Linked DNA regions of Homo sapiens: regions 2, 3 and 4 are each linked to region 1. The links are contacts of gene promoters, found by promoter capture Hi-C in blood cells and fetal thymus (Javierre and others, 2016). All regions are on one chromosome and are shown on one strand. Each heading gives the region's core, a stretch centred on a gene start or on the middle of the fragment in contact. The rest is flanking DNA. Distances are from core to core; before and after follow the strand shown.

The links. The method cuts DNA at HindIII sites, captures the fragments that hold promoters and counts their contacts. A CHiCAGO score of 5 or more calls a contact.
Region 2: a contact is called between a fragment that was not itself captured here and the fragment with the promoter of PUM1 in region 1, in 2 of 17 cell types (total B cells and total CD4 T cells). The highest score is 6.5, in total B cells.
Region 3: a fragment that was not itself captured here is called in contact with the fragment with the promoter of PUM1 in region 1 in 1 of 17 cell types (fetal thymus); the score reaches 6.0 in fetal thymus.
Region 4: the fragment with the promoter of TXLNA here is called in contact with the fragment with the promoter of PUM1 in region 1 in 1 of 17 cell types (total B cells); the score reaches 5.8 in total B cells.

What each region holds. Positions count from the first base shown.
Region 1 is chr1:31,063,802-31,067,349 of GRCh38, reverse strand. PUM1 (pumilio RNA binding family member 1) reads left to right here and starts at 1,633. Exons shown (of 22, transcript NM_001020658.2): 1 at 1,633-1,734. RefSeq lists a silencer at 1,327-1,546 and enhancers at 875-1,789, 1,657-1,976. The HindIII fragment of the contact is 1,467 bases long and covers 1,300-2,766 here.
Region 2 is chr1:29,230,068-29,233,615 of GRCh38, reverse strand. MECR (mitochondrial trans-2-enoyl-CoA reductase) reads left to right here and starts at 2,682. Exons shown (of 10, transcript NM_016011.5): 1 at 2,682-2,885. The coding sequence starts at 2,710. RefSeq lists enhancers at 2,671-2,780, 2,305-2,805, 2,806-3,306. The HindIII fragment of the contact is 752 bases long and covers 1,541-2,292 here.
Region 3 is chr1:32,392,084-32,395,631 of GRCh38, reverse strand. BSDC1 (BSD domain containing 1) reads left to right here and starts at 1,191. Exons shown (of 11, transcript NM_018045.8): 1 at 1,191-1,228; 2 at 1,492-1,552. The coding sequence starts at 1,218. RefSeq lists enhancers at 1-58, 806-885, 757-1,452, 1,176-1,465, 1,453-2,150. The HindIII fragment of the contact is 1,550 bases long and covers 966-2,515 here.
Region 4 is chr1:32,177,988-32,181,535 of GRCh38, reverse strand. TXLNA (taxilin alpha) reads right to left here and starts at 1,861. Exons shown (of 11, transcript NM_175852.4): 1 at 1,760-1,861; 2 at 1,022-1,222; 3 at 1-294. The coding sequence starts at 1,190. RefSeq lists enhancers at 858-907, 918-1,077, 1,198-1,277, 1,165-1,923, 1,924-2,683 and silencers at 1,478-1,657, 1,798-1,987. The HindIII fragment of the contact is 3,390 bases long and covers 1,311-3,548 here.

The DNA of each region.
Region 1 (3,548 bases), core at 384-2,883:
AGGTGTGAGCCACCCCACCAGGACCCTGATGGGAGAAATTTTGCATTTATCATGATGATCAACCATTTCCTTATCATGTGTATTGCAAATATATATATATGTATATATACGTATATATATGTTTATATATGTATATATGTGTATATATGTATATATGTATATATGTGTATATATGTATATATGTGTATATATATGTATATATGTATATATACATATATGTGTATATATATATATTTTTTTTCTTGAGACGGAGTCTTGCTCTGTCATCAGGCTGGAGTGCAGTGGCACAATATTGGCTCACTGCAACCTCTGCCTCCTGGGTTCAAGTGATTCTCCTGCCTCAGCCTCCCCAGTAGCTGGGACCACAGGCGCCCGCCACCACTCCCGGCTAATTTTTTTGTATTTTTAGTAGAGACGGGGTTTCACCATGTTGGCCAGGATGGTCTTGATCTCTTGACCTCATGATCCACCCGCCTCGGCCTCCCAAAGTGCTGGGATTACAGGCATGAGCCATCGCGCCTGGCCGTGTACTGCAAATATTTTTTATCCATTTGTTCTACTTTGTTGATGGCATCTCTTCTCGTACAGATGTTTATATTTCTTTCAATATTTTCTTTTATGATCTTTTGACTTTGATTCATGAGTATAAACATTTTCCCTCCTCCAATTATAGAGCTTCTCCCCATATCTTCTTCTGGTCTTTTACAGTATTGCGATTTGTCTGTTTTCAATCTATTTTTTTTTTTTTTTTGAGACGGAGCCTCTCCGTGTCGCCCAGGCTCAAGTGCAGTGGCGCGATCTCTGCTCACTGCAAGCTCCGCCTCCCAGGTTCAGGCCATTCTCCTGCCTCAGCCTCCCGAGTAGCTGGGACTACAGGTGCCCGCCACCACGCCCGGCTAATTTTTTTGTATTTTTAGTAGAGACAGGGTTTCACCATGTTAGCCAGGATGGTCTCGATCTCCTGACCTCATGATCCGCCCGCCTCAGCCTCCCAAAGTCCAGGGATTACAGGCGTGAGCCACCGCGCCCGGCCTTCAATCTATTTTGAGTTTAGTTTGAGACAGTAAGACTAAAAGCACTTAACATACATTATTCCACTTAATCCTCCAGGCCATTCTGTTAAGTGGGGGTTATTTTCTTCTTCATTGTACAAATGTGGAAATGGAGGCAGGTCGATTTAAATAAGGCCGCAGAGCTAGAAAGCTGCAGAGAAGGGGTTTGAACCCTGCACCTCTGGGGCCAGGGCAGTGCGGGTGGCCGTCCGCGAACCCTGCTAGCTGTGGTGCTCGGGGGCAAGCTTCCGAGGGCGCGGCGGGCGCGAGGAGCGCGTCCGAGACTCGGTGGAGCGTCACCGGCGCAACCCCGCGTGCCCAGCTCCAGGCCGTGTTCTCCCAGGTGCGGGCCGGCGGGACCCCGCCTTCGGCCCTGGCGGCGCGCGCTCGCCTAGCGGGCGGGCACTCGCGCGCAGCGTTTGTGTTGCCTGCGAGTTTCCCGAGTTCACACAGGCCCTGGGTTGGCATGGCAACCAGGCAACCTGTTCCAGAGCCGCCAGCCTTCTCCGCACATGCCGCTGCCACCGCCGGGGCCGGGGCCGGAGCCTATCCCAGGATGCACCGCGCCAACCCAGTCCCCAGTGGGCCGCCATGTTGTCGGAGTGAAAGGTAAGGGGGAGCGAGAGCGCCAGAGAGAGAAGATCGGGGGGCTGAAATCCATCTTCATCCTACCGCTCCGCCCGTGAGTATCCGCACCCCACCGGCCCCAAACGCTGCTCCGGACCCCTAACGAGCAGATTGTCCCTTCATATTGGTGTTTGAGAGTGGTTGTGGGGGTGAGAAGGGCTTTGGAAAAGCCGCCGGGGCCCTGGCTGAGGCTTCTCACTCGCTGTTCCTCGTACATGTTTTGGAGTCAGCAGCAAGGCCCCTATTGTTATCAAAGGAGGGAGGGGGTGGGGAGCGGGGTCGAAGCTAGGAAAATGCTGGGGGTTTAGGCCCGAGCCCAGGGCGTAGACGTGCCTCTACATTTTTGCCTGGCCCTGTTGGGAACCACCGAAGATTGATGTTGCCATTCGGGTTGCTTTTTTTGATGGGTTTGCGAAGCCCCGAGTCTTCTGTGTGGCCATGAAGTGTAATTCTGTGCCACCCCGATTTCTTCGACTTCTTGAGCTTCCGTGGCAGCGCCGGAGGAGGAGGAACAATAAATCGCTTTAGAAGCAGCCGTGGCCCTTGTCCACAGGCGAGATTCACCGTGGGGGAACTTTGCGAGCCTTAAATGTGGAGAAGTGGCGATCAGGAAGTTTCAGAATGCTTTTTAGGCTCCTGGGTTGCTGTGGCCTTTTGTTTCCGTGTGAGCTTGTGTTTTTGGTGGGTTCTTCCTTTTTGAGCCTCCCGGTGTTGGTGTCTCTCTTCACTCAAAGAGGGGTTCACCCCTTGCTAGTAGGAAAATCTAGATACACAATACTAGTTTTAGTCCTCACAAACATGCTTGGTAAACATAGATCATTTGTTTTACTTGTCAGTACCATTCCCACGTCAAGTGAGGAATACACTCCTGTAACTTTTCCCTCCTATAGCCCCCCCCCCCCCCCCCGCTGAAAAAACAAAGCCAGAAACCCACACACAGCATTACCAGAGAAGGCTTTATTCTCCCGTAACTTAGATTGTTACCTTTTATTGTTCAATTAAGAAAACACTGTTCTCAGCCCTCGATACCATTTTGCTCAATTCCTGTTATTACTGGGATTAATTAAGAATAAGATTTTATGAAGCTTTTCCTGGGTTCTGTTTTAAAGTCAGTTAACTTCTGAAACAATAGGCTTAGCATTTTGTTTCTTGAAAGCACCTAAAAACTTACTAAGACAGGCCCAACCCCAAGAAATGTGGCTTCCGATGCAGTTTTCGTAAGCAAAATAAACATTTTGACCCTTTGCTAATTTTAACTTTATAAAACACTGGGGGGCTGTTGATTCTTTATCTGGGCTCTTGGGAAACGCTCTCCGGATTCTGAACTTTGAGTTAGTGTTTTGCTTTAGCGACAATTGAATTCATTTTGTTCAAGGCCACAGCTTTTTGAAGTTGGAATTTGTTTAGTTTAGGTTTAAAATGAACTGTTTTAAGATAAATTTATGACCACAGAATGTTTGTTAAGTGTGGTAAAAATAAACACCTTTTAAACCACTAAGCATTTTAGTAAAAGGTGAGCCATGGAAATAAAGTAAACCGTGTTCCTTTGAATTCAACTCAATTAGTGATATTTTAAAAAACTTTGTAAACATTTGAAAGCTGTGAAAGAGTAGCTGGACTGAGCACTTCTAGTTGCTTAAAGTACTTATAAGGTGTCATTTGTAAAAAAATCACATTTTAAATGCTACACGTATTAGTGAGCTTTTCTGATATTTAGGATACTGAGTTTTTAATTTTTGTGCCGTATTTGCCAAAATACCACAAAACTACCCAAGATAACATGTTAATTGCTTAGGTATTTGCTCACTTTGAAACTGTTCTGCCAGGTTTTCTCTGGTTTGAGAAACTGCCTTGCCTCTTTAGGTAAAG
Region 2 (3,548 bases), core at 667-3,166, 1.8 Mb after region 1:
GAGACCAGCCTGACTAACATGGTGAAACCCTGTCTCTACTAAAAAAAAAAAAAATACAAAAATTAGCCAGACGTAGTTGCGGGCACCTGTAATCCCAGCTACTCAGGAGGCTGAGGCAGGAGAATTGCTTGAACCTGGGAGGCGGAGGTTGCAGTGAGCCAAGATCGCGCCATTGCACTCCAGCCTGGGCAACGAGCAAAACTCTGTCTCAAAAAAAAAAAAAAAAAAAAAAAAAGACCACAGACTTCTATAATCCTTGAGAGAAGAAGGAAGAAGGAAATTCCTGGCCTGGAGTGACCAGCCCAAATCTAGGGAAAAGGAGATGGCACCACAGACCGTTCTAGGCCATGAGGAAATTCAATTACCTGCAACTCATGGAATATTTATGACACCTACCCTGTGCCAGGCTCATATCGGGTGCTGGTGTTATGGAGATAAACCAAACATGGCTCCAGTCTTGCCTGGAGGGGAATAAATAAGAGACGATGTACTAAAGGCCATAACACAGCTCCAGGGAAAACACAAAGGCAGCAGCAGATGACCTAGGGAGTTTTGAAACATCAAAGAAATGACATCTGAACCTGGAGTTTCCGAGGCAGGGAACAGCATTTCAGGCAGAAGGAGTGGCCTGAATAAAGGCACAAGACACACTGGGGAAGACGGGTATCAGATGCAGCTGGATCACAGGCTATGCACGGTCCAACAGGAGAAGATGAAGCTGGAAATGCAGTGTGGGAGTCAGAGTGCAAAGAATCTTGAATGCAAGTCCAGGAAATTGGACTTGAACCCCTCAGTCAGTAGTTCTCAAACTATGCCCCTGCAAGAACCCAGATGGCCTAGACTAAAAGTGAGGGCTATTGGGATGCACAGGAGGCTAAAGTCCAGCCCCAAGGAGGAGGACTTGCTGGATGATTCTTCAGGCTTCCTGACTGGGCTCCCCAGAAATTCAGAGGAGCCAATTTGGTGAAGAAGAGAATGTCGACATCTCAATGTCACCTAGGGAGTCTTACAACAGAAGGTTACGTTGTACTTCCCAGTTCAAGTAAGCCTATGTGTCACTGGGGAAAAGGGTAAGCAGGACTGGTCATCGTGTGTGTGCTGGCACATAAATGTGGGGCCAAGCCTTTCCCCCACCATGGGACACCAACTTTCTCTAATAATAAAAACAAGTACAGACATTTAGTGAGCACATACTATAAGCCAGACCCTAGTCTGAGGGTTTTATGTGTGATATTTCTCATTTAATCACAATAACCCCCGATAATATTTATCAAATGCTTCCATGTGCCAAGCATTGTACTAAATGCTTCAAGTGGATAATATCTCACTTGACCCTCACAACAATCTTGAAACAGATAACTAGTATTCCTTCCATTTTAAGAGTAAGAAAGTGAAGACACAGAGAGGCCTGGTGACTTGTCCGAAATCAAATGGCTGGAAAATGGCAGAGCTAGGACATAAAGCCAGGTTTGTCCAAATCTAGCTCACAGTACTTTGCTGTGCTCTCTTCCTCAGAGGAAAGGCTTGGAGATGGCAAGCTTCAAGTCAATAAAATCCAGGAAAGGAACTCTTCCTTATCCTTCAAAGCCCTGGCTCAGTATCTTAAAACCTGTTTCCTGGGACACCTGCATCAGAATATTCTTGGGAGCTTGTAAGGATGTAGATTCCTGGAACCCCCATCCGCAAGATTCTAATTCAGTAGGTCTAAGATGGGACCTCGGATTATTTTTATGCACACAGAAGATTTTGAATCACAGGGCTGGCTCTAACAGCACCTCCTCCAAGAGCCCCCACCCCATCCCACCCCATCCCAGAGCACTTCTCTTCAGACTACAGCATTGCACTCTGGCACGAGCCACAGCTCGATCTGGGGTTTTAGTAATGTTCATGTCTTCCCTACACCAAAAATCAGACTAGATCCTTCATAGGGCTACACCTTTTTACAGGCATTTCCAGTGTTCCACTTAATCCCTTTCTACACTGTGAGCATTTTGAGAGAGGACCCTTCTCCTTGTGATTCCTGTCTTACATCTGAACAGAGTTTTTTACAATGCGTTCTCCCACCCACAATAGCATTCCTCTATTATTTCATCCAATCCTCACAACAATCCGGAAGGAGGCATATTATCCCCATTGTACCGATGAGAAAAATTCAGAGTTTCACCTGCCCAAGGTGGCCAAGCTAGGAAGTGGCAGGGCTAGGATTTGAACCTAAGTTTTCTAACTCCAAGCCCCATACTCCTGCCTCCACAGCAGCTTTCGTGTACTCTCCTCAGTGTAGGGAAGTAAGCTTTGCCTCCCTATGCCGTTACATGGTAGTGGTGATTAAATGAGATAATACCTTAAAGAGCCTGGCTCGGTGAGCACTCAATATATTATGTGAAGGGTAAACTGAGGCCAGGGAGAGTAAATATTTCCTCCAAATCAAACACCAAACTGCAGGCTGTAGACACGACTTTGGACTAGCCCCAGACTCTCCTTGTTGAGACAACAGCTTTGGCGGCCTCGCAAGCTCCGCACCCCCGGATCCCTCCGGGGCCCACACGCAGTCTAGCCAGGCGCCACCACTTGGGCAGCGAAGGAAGGAAACGCCCTTCAAAGGGACCAAGGGGGAGTGGTCACCCGGCGGGGCAGGGGCGGGGCGCAGGCGCGCGGTCGCTGGAAGATGACGTAGCCGGGGCGTCAGGCTCTGTGTTGGTTGGAGCGAGCATGTGGGTCTGCAGTACCCTGTGGCGGGTGCGAACCCCCGCCCGGCAGTGGCGGGGGCTGCTCCCAGCTTCTGGCTGTCACGGACCTGCCGCCTCCTCCTACTCCGCATCCGCCGAGCCTGCCCGGGTCCGGGCGCTTGTCTATGGGCACCACGGGGATCCAGCCAAGGTCGTCGAGTAAGAGACGGCGCCGAAGCCGGGGAAGGGGACTGGGGTTTCTGGAAGGCTTTAACACGAGCTGCGGACTGGGAAGAGAGGGACAGGGTCCGAGGAAGGGGGCAGAGAATAGCAAACCGAAGCCGAAGCCCAGGGCGTTTTTGGTAGGTCAGAAAGACCGTACTTGAAGGTAGCTGAAGACCCGAGAGGCAATTATCAGGGTATTAATGGCTGATGTTTATTGATCGAATATTGTGTCAGGCAATCCCTTGTTTAAATGGATGCTCTCATTTAATTGTCACAACAATGTTTTGGGGTAGTTATTGATTTATCCCCATTTTGCAGATGAAAACTGAGGCAGAAGAGGTAAAATCACTCGTCCAAGGTCACACAGCCAGTAAGTGACAGGGTCAGAATTCCAACCTATGTCTGACTGACCTGCGTGAGTTCTTACTATTATTATTATTATTTGGAAGAAGTTTTCAGAATACTTTTACATCCATTTGGATCTTCATGTGTCAGTAAAGAGTAGGTCATAGATCATTGTTTCCAGAGGGCAAGGGACTTGCCCAGAGTGATACCGCTAATAAGTGATTGGAACAGGAGACTGGAATCCATGGCTTCTGATTCCAAACTCATGTTTCTCTCCACTGCACCGTATATGCATCTTGGCTTGGTTAAAAA
Region 3 (3,548 bases), core at 491-2,990, 1.3 Mb before region 1:
TCAAAATAAATAAATAAATAAAATAGATGTTTCCGTCTTCCACAGGGAGGACCAAAAATAAATAAATAAATAAAATAGATGTGTCCGTCTTCCACAGGGAGGACGTGGGATGGTGGCGGAGCTGGCTGCAGCAGAGCTACAAATAAATATAAAATAAATAAAATTAAATAAAATTAAATAAATAAAAGAAAGTTATTTCAAAGGATTGTCTGAGAGGCAAAAACCTAACTGCAGTGAGTTCAAGAGAGAATGGGAGGAGAGGGGAGTTGCAGACTGTGAGTAGGCAACGCTTTTGCTGTAAAGGGGAGTAGGGAAACGGTGAGGGATATAGAGAGGGCTGGTTTTTGTTTGCCTTTGAGATGGGAGAAACAGCAGTACGGATGATGACAAGGATAAATGCAGTCATCAGAGGGAAAAGAGATGAAGGGGGGATTACTAGATCTATGTCCTTAAGCAAACAAGAGGCGATGGGATCTACCGCACACGTGGAGGGGCTGACCTTAATTAAAGTCCAAAGTATGTGGGCTGTGGAATCTCCCTTCCAATCGCAGTAGAACTCAATCCAGGCGGTCTCCGGATTTCTCCAGACCACCTCCACCTGGCGTTGTTCTGAGCTGGGCCACCGAAAGTTGAGATTACTGAATGTGTGTGTCTCCCATTAACCCGTAAGCCCTCCAAAGGCTGCATCTAAGTCGCCTCTGAATTATTCACATTCCTCCAAACTCTGGGCCACAGCCCCGCAATATGGGCTTATTGAATTAGCCCAAAGAGACACAAAGCAGCCTCTACGCAGCTGGTTTCACAAAGGGGGGCGGTCCTAACCCTGCGCTCTGGGATCCTGACGTTCGAGCTATCTCTCCTCCTCCCCTCTGCTCCCAGCTCTCCGCAGTCCAGCTTGTCGGCTGATCATCGTCCATAGAGGCCACCGTACCCGACGTTTGCGGACAGTGACAAAGAGTCAAGCTTGGTGGAGCCTGAGGACAGGACTGAATGACGATTGAACTGAGAGTTCAGGGGCGGAGTTTGAGGGCGAACTCGGGACAGAGACTGGATAGAGTTCAGGGAGGCGGGACCTAATGATGGCGCAGGGAGGGGATTGGGCTGAGGGCGGTGCCGGCGCGAGGATTGGGCCGAGCGCCTCGGGGGCGGTCCTTGAGGGGGCGGTGCCGTGTCGGAAGTCAAAGGTCAGTAAATAGTGGTGATGTCATGCAGGCAAGATGGCGGAAGGGTGAGCTTGTCGTTTTGCTCCTAGGCGTTGGGGCCTGAATTCTCCCAGGGTTGGGGTGCTGGGCGAGAGTCCCGGTGGGGAACGTGAGATCAGCGGGGGCGTGGACTGATCTGAAAGGGCAGAGTGGAGTCGCATTGTGAGGGGGTGGGCAAGCGGTCTGCGAAGCCTCGGCCCGCAGGGTACATCTGAGCGGGGAACAAACCGGATCCTTGGGCGGGCAGGAATCGCACCGCGGTGCTGCCAGATGTGTCTGTCTTCCACAGGGAGGACGTGGGATGGTGGCGGAGCTGGCTGCAGCAGAGCTACCAAGCAGTCAAAGAGAAGGTAAGCCGGGCCCGTGCCCTTCTTCCCTCAGCAGGGCCCTGCGCCGCCTCAATGCAACCTGGTCCAACCAGCCCCGCCCAACTTTTGCGGGCGCTAAGTCTCAAGGATGAGGCTGACCTGGGCCTTTCTTTTAGCCTCTACCGGTCCACGGGAAGACAGACCTCGACGCAAACCAGTGTGATACTAGCCACAGTGAAATAAAGATGGTTTTAAAGGCTGGAGTTAACGAACGTTTTGTAGGAATCCATAGGAAGGAGCAATTTATTCCAGCTCAGGAAATTCAGTTTCTTCGTGAAAGAGAGAGCATTTGATACAGGTCTTGAAGGAAAAGATTCTAGCAGTAAAAAAACTTACTCGTATAGTCATTCAAATATTAGAGTATATGCGACAACCAGCACTCTGATAGGTCTTGAGGATACAGACTTCAGCCAAACAGATGTAATCCTGGGCCTTACAAAGCTCACAGTCTAGTGGAGAGACAGCCATTAACCGAGTAGCCAAACAAATAGTTGTTTAGTTACCGTTGTGGTAAGTTCTGTGAAAGGAAAGTACAGGGGCACCTTGTCTGTTCTGGTTAGTCAGTAACTCACCAGGGAAGGCCCCTGTGGAGAAGGAACCTCATCAAGGGCAACCCTGCCTAGACAGGATGAAAAGCAAGAACCCAAGCCAGAGATGAGCATGAGCCATACACACTGGTGCCTGATGAGTTCTAAGTAGGGGCTATGCAACGGGCAGTAGAGAGAGAGAGATTAATCACCAGAGAGTGGAAGGCCTTCTTGCTGAACAATCTCTGTGGGATGAGTGATATTTGGCTGTGCCAGTGGGTAATTTGCCAATGTGTATTCCTGTTTCATTTCATGCTTATTTGTCAAAATCAGCCCAACTGAATTGTGGGAAAAGTTGATTACTATTTACCTCAAGCAATTGGGATGAGTCCTGCTTCAGGGCCAACTCCAGGAAGCTTCTGACCTCACCTAAATAAGTCCTCTACTCTGGGAGTATTTTTGTTTTGTTTTGAGACAGAGTCTCACTCTGTCACCTAGGCTGGAGTGCACAGGTGCGGTCTCAGCTCGCTGCAACCTCTGCCTCCCAGATTGAAGTGATTCTTGTGCCTCAGCCTCCCGAGTAGCTGGGATTACAGGCATGTGCCACTACTCCTGGCTAATTTTTGTATTTTTAGTAGAGACAGGGTTTCACCATGTTGGCCAGACTGGTCTCGAACTCCTCACCTCAGGTGAGCCACCTGCCTCAGCTTCCCAAAGTGCTGGGATTATAGGCGTGAGCCACCACACCCAGACATCTGGGAGCGTTTTTATTCCTCCCTTATCCTGGGTACTCCTGGACAGCCTCTCAGCAATAGCCCAGCAAATCTGAGAATGCCCTGAGCTGTTTATGTTGTTGATGAGGACTGAGAGGCTTGCACCCTAACATTTGATAGAAGAGACCCGATAGTAGCATATTTCCTGTTGGGTAATTTCCTGGCAGGAAAGTCTGACATTCATTCAGCAGATGTTGCATGAGGGCCTCCTGTGTTTGTCTCAAGGTTGGTCTTATCATAACTTATGAAAAATAGATAGTTGGCCAACCTTCCGTCTTCATTCTTGGAATTCCCAGTTAAAAGCTGGGGTGGGGGTGGAGGTGGGAGTTGTTTATGCCTTTTTGGAAAGAAAAGACGTAATTTCCCTTTTTTTACTTTCTTACTCTTATATGTACTTGGGCAAGTGTTTTTTGTTTTTTGTTTGTTTGTTTTTGAGACCAAGTCTGGCTCTGTTACCAGGCTGGAGTGCAGTGGCTCAGTCTCAGCTCTGCAACTTCCGCCTCCTGAGTTCAAGTGATTCTCCTGCCTCGGCCTCCTGAGTAGCTGGGATTACAGGCATGTGCCACCACGCCCAGCTAATTTTTCTATTTTCAATAGAGACAGGGTTTCACCATGTTGGCCAGGCTGGTCTCAAACTCCTGACCTCAGGTGATCCGCCTGCCTCGGCCTCCCAAAGTG
Region 4 (3,548 bases), core at 612-3,111, 1.1 Mb before region 1:
CTCGGTCTCCGACCTCGTCACTCTGCCGGATCTCTTCTGTGTTTGGATCCCCCTTGGAGGGTTCCTTCTCTCCATTGACTACTGGAGTTGGTTCAGGCTCCCCATTCCTTGCCACATAGGTCCGGGACTTCTCTGCATCTTCGGGTTCAGCCGGCTCACCCTGTGCCCCATCCTCGCCGGGGCCCCCCTGGTTATTGTCCACACAGTATGTGCTCAGTATGTCTTCCAGTTGGCGGCTCAGCTCCTCAGAGACATCACGAAGGGCCCCAGACTGAGCCGTTCTGGCTTGAGCCCCTACAGCAGGAGAGGATGAGGGGTAGAGTGAGAAAGAAGACGATTATACCACTGGTTGGGATTTTTCAGGCCCAGCCAAACTCATCAGTTTGAGTTAAATGTTGCCTAACTTTTTTTTTTATGGAAACTGAGAAGCAAGAATGGAGTATCATTCAGCAAATCTAGTTCCTGTCAGAATTTAGATTCGAAACATCTTTTAAATCAAGAAATTATAGTAATCGTTGCCTAACTTCTTTAAGTCTGTTTACTTGTAAAATGACACAACTATTTCTCACTACCACCCGAACATATTTGTTAGATCATAAAAGTATGTAAAGCATCAGCACACAGGGATGGCACGGAGCAACTTCTAGTCCATCTCCTTCCCCCCCACAAAACCATTTCTTGCCATTCAGATCATTCTAGAAATGCCTCAAACAGGAAGGGCAGTTAGCTGCTGGTGGCTGAGGTGTTTCTAACGGGACCTGGATTTCCTGACTGGGTGCCTCGTTTGGCTGCCACCTGACTTAATCCCGTCGGAGCTTCTCTCCAGAACTCTGTTCCTGTGCTTAGAGGGGGCAGCTCCGCCAACTCGCCAGAGCGCAGGGGGGACCGCGGCCCCCAGCACTGTCCTCTCATTCTACATCTCCTCCTCCCGGACAACCTGGCCTCGGCCTGTAAGTCCAGAAGCGAGGCCGACCCCACAGCTCCTCCCCCTGCCCGCTGGCAACGCAGAGCTGGCACACACCCTCCGGCTTCCGAGGAGCCTGGCTGCTGCCGGGACCTTCTGCTTCTACTGCAGGAGCCGCCTGGCTGGGCCGCTCCTGGGCTCCCTCGGGTCCTGCTTCCGGTTGTCCTGGGCTGCTTTTTGGATTGGATTGTTTGGCAGCCCCGTTCTTTTTGTCTTGGTTCTTCATTGTGATGAGCGATGCTGGGTCAGGAGAAGATCCTTTAGAAACAAACACAGTTGCTATTTTCCAGACTTCGAAATTCTTCGCAGCCTGGATCAGAAATCCCCACAGCAGGCGCACAAAGCTTCTTAAAATAAACGGACCGGCAGGCCCGGGCGGAGGGCGCCAACGGCTCTCTGGTCTTGGCGGGTCAGGAGAGCCCGACGTGCCGGGGCAGGCTTTCGGGGCGCAGCTCCCACAGCGGGTGAGGGAAGAGGCCTCTTCTCCCTGGAGCCACTTCCCGGCACAACCGGCCCCCTCGCGGCAGGCCGGGCGCGGGATTGGCTCAGGGCCGGAGACTGACGTGGCGGGACTCCCGGCACCGCCCCCGCCCCTCAGGCCCCACGTGCGCCCCCCGCGCGCGCAGCCACCCACGCCCCGCGCGCCCTCAAGCCGCGAGGCACGCCCGCGCATGCGCATATCCCCAGACAGCCCCCGGCCCACGCGGGGAGTTGGCGTGATTTCCCCACAGGCCGAGAACATCCCGGCCCGCACACTCTCAAATAGTCTCGCCCACCGGCCGCCGCTGCACGTACCTCACCGCCGACGTCCGATGGCTTCCCCACCTCTGGCCTCGCACCGGAAACCCCGAGTAACTGCTGCCGGCCAGCCGCCTGCTCCCGCCTCAGCCAATCAATAGCCGGCGCCGGCGCGGAGCTTGCTGGGAAGGACGAAGCGAGGGCGGCCTCGGAGGCGGGCGCCCCGGCAGGGCGGGGCAGGGAAAAGACTACGCGTCCCTCTTTACGCAGGGGCTAGCCGCAGATCCCAAGGTGCATAAGGGACTGTAGTCCTGGGAGTCCAAAAGGAGCCCGTCATTCTGCACGAGTGCCCATGTCAACCTTGTTTCTATCTCGCAGAAGCTATGCTTCAACTCCCAAAGCCTTGCGCCTGGCTGTTGTTTCCTGCAGGCCTCCATCAAACCTTCCTCCCTGGCCGTGAACAAATGTGACTCCATCCGGGAACTCCGAGGACTCGGGAAGAGGGATAGAGTCCTGGGCTGAGACTCAGGAGACCCATACTCCAGTCCCAACTTCATCACGGATTTGCTGTGTGGCTGGACGTTCTGTTCTCTCTCTGGGCCTCAATGTCCTTCTTCCAAAGGAGGCTTTTAATAACAATAGCAGTTCCTTGAACGCTTACTGTGTGCTTTCCCGCTATCTAATAGCTTGGTTCTCATAACCACTCATAGAAATAACTACTATCTGTTATCCCCATTTTACGGAAAAGGACAGTAAGAGAAAGGTTAGGTAACTTATCCAAGGTCATATCGATAGTGAGTGGTTAAAACAGGGATTCAAAACTGGTAAGTCTGAGACCAGCACCCAGGTAATTACCTGGTCTTTCACCCAGAAGAAACACTACCACAGCAGGTTTCCCTGAGGCAGTCAAGGTAACTTGTGAAAGTAGGTCATATTTTCCCCTCTCCATTACCATTTTGGCAGTCAGTTCCTCAGAAAGGTGCTGAGTTAGGCTTCAGGCATATTCATGAGCCTTTTCTCTACCCCACACTCTACAAAGTCTCACTGGGGTTAAAGTAGAAAAAACCCCCACAGTTCCCTACACATGAGATCACAATTCTGTATCCCCATTGCTTCTGGATAATGAAATCAAACCCAACAATCCTTGTGCCTGGAATTTGAAGCCTAAGAGATTTGACTTTTGCCAAACCCAAAATTTTTTGAGGCCCAGTTCAAAGGTCACTTCAGAGCCTTCCCAGTGCTCTGCAAACCGTACTTGCTCCCTAGGTCTGCAGAGTTGTTACAGCATTAGCAGTGAGGTGTTGAAATTACTATTTACTTATAAGTCAGTTAATTTTGCAAGAACTGTTGGCTAAATAGTCTAGTCCCAGAGCCTCGCATCAGGCTGTGGGTAGAGAAGATTGTAAACTGTTGTGCTAATTGAGCGTTGGTTTAGGGCTGTTAGGATGTTAAATATTTCCCCCAAAGGCTCAGTGAAAGACTTCAGAGCCGTGCATGTTGGATTTCAGATTTTCAGATTGGGGAAGCTCAACCGGTAAAATTTGAGAAAATCCCAAATTGGAAACACTTCTGGTCCCAAGCATGTTGGATAAGAGATATTCAATTTTTAGTATAATGATGGAACTGAGGCTCAGAAAGGTTGGAATCTAGATGTCCTGAAACCAAGGCCCTGATTATTTCTAGAAAAGCATTCTGGAAATCTCTTGAGAAGGCACCATATAAATCAGGCCTTGATAGATTTCCATATAACAAGGGTGTTCTAGGTGAGATAAAGAACATAAAAATGTATGCATGGGGTGAGGGATAGAGGATGTAGTAGAAGGGTCAACAATAGCCTAGAGGGGCC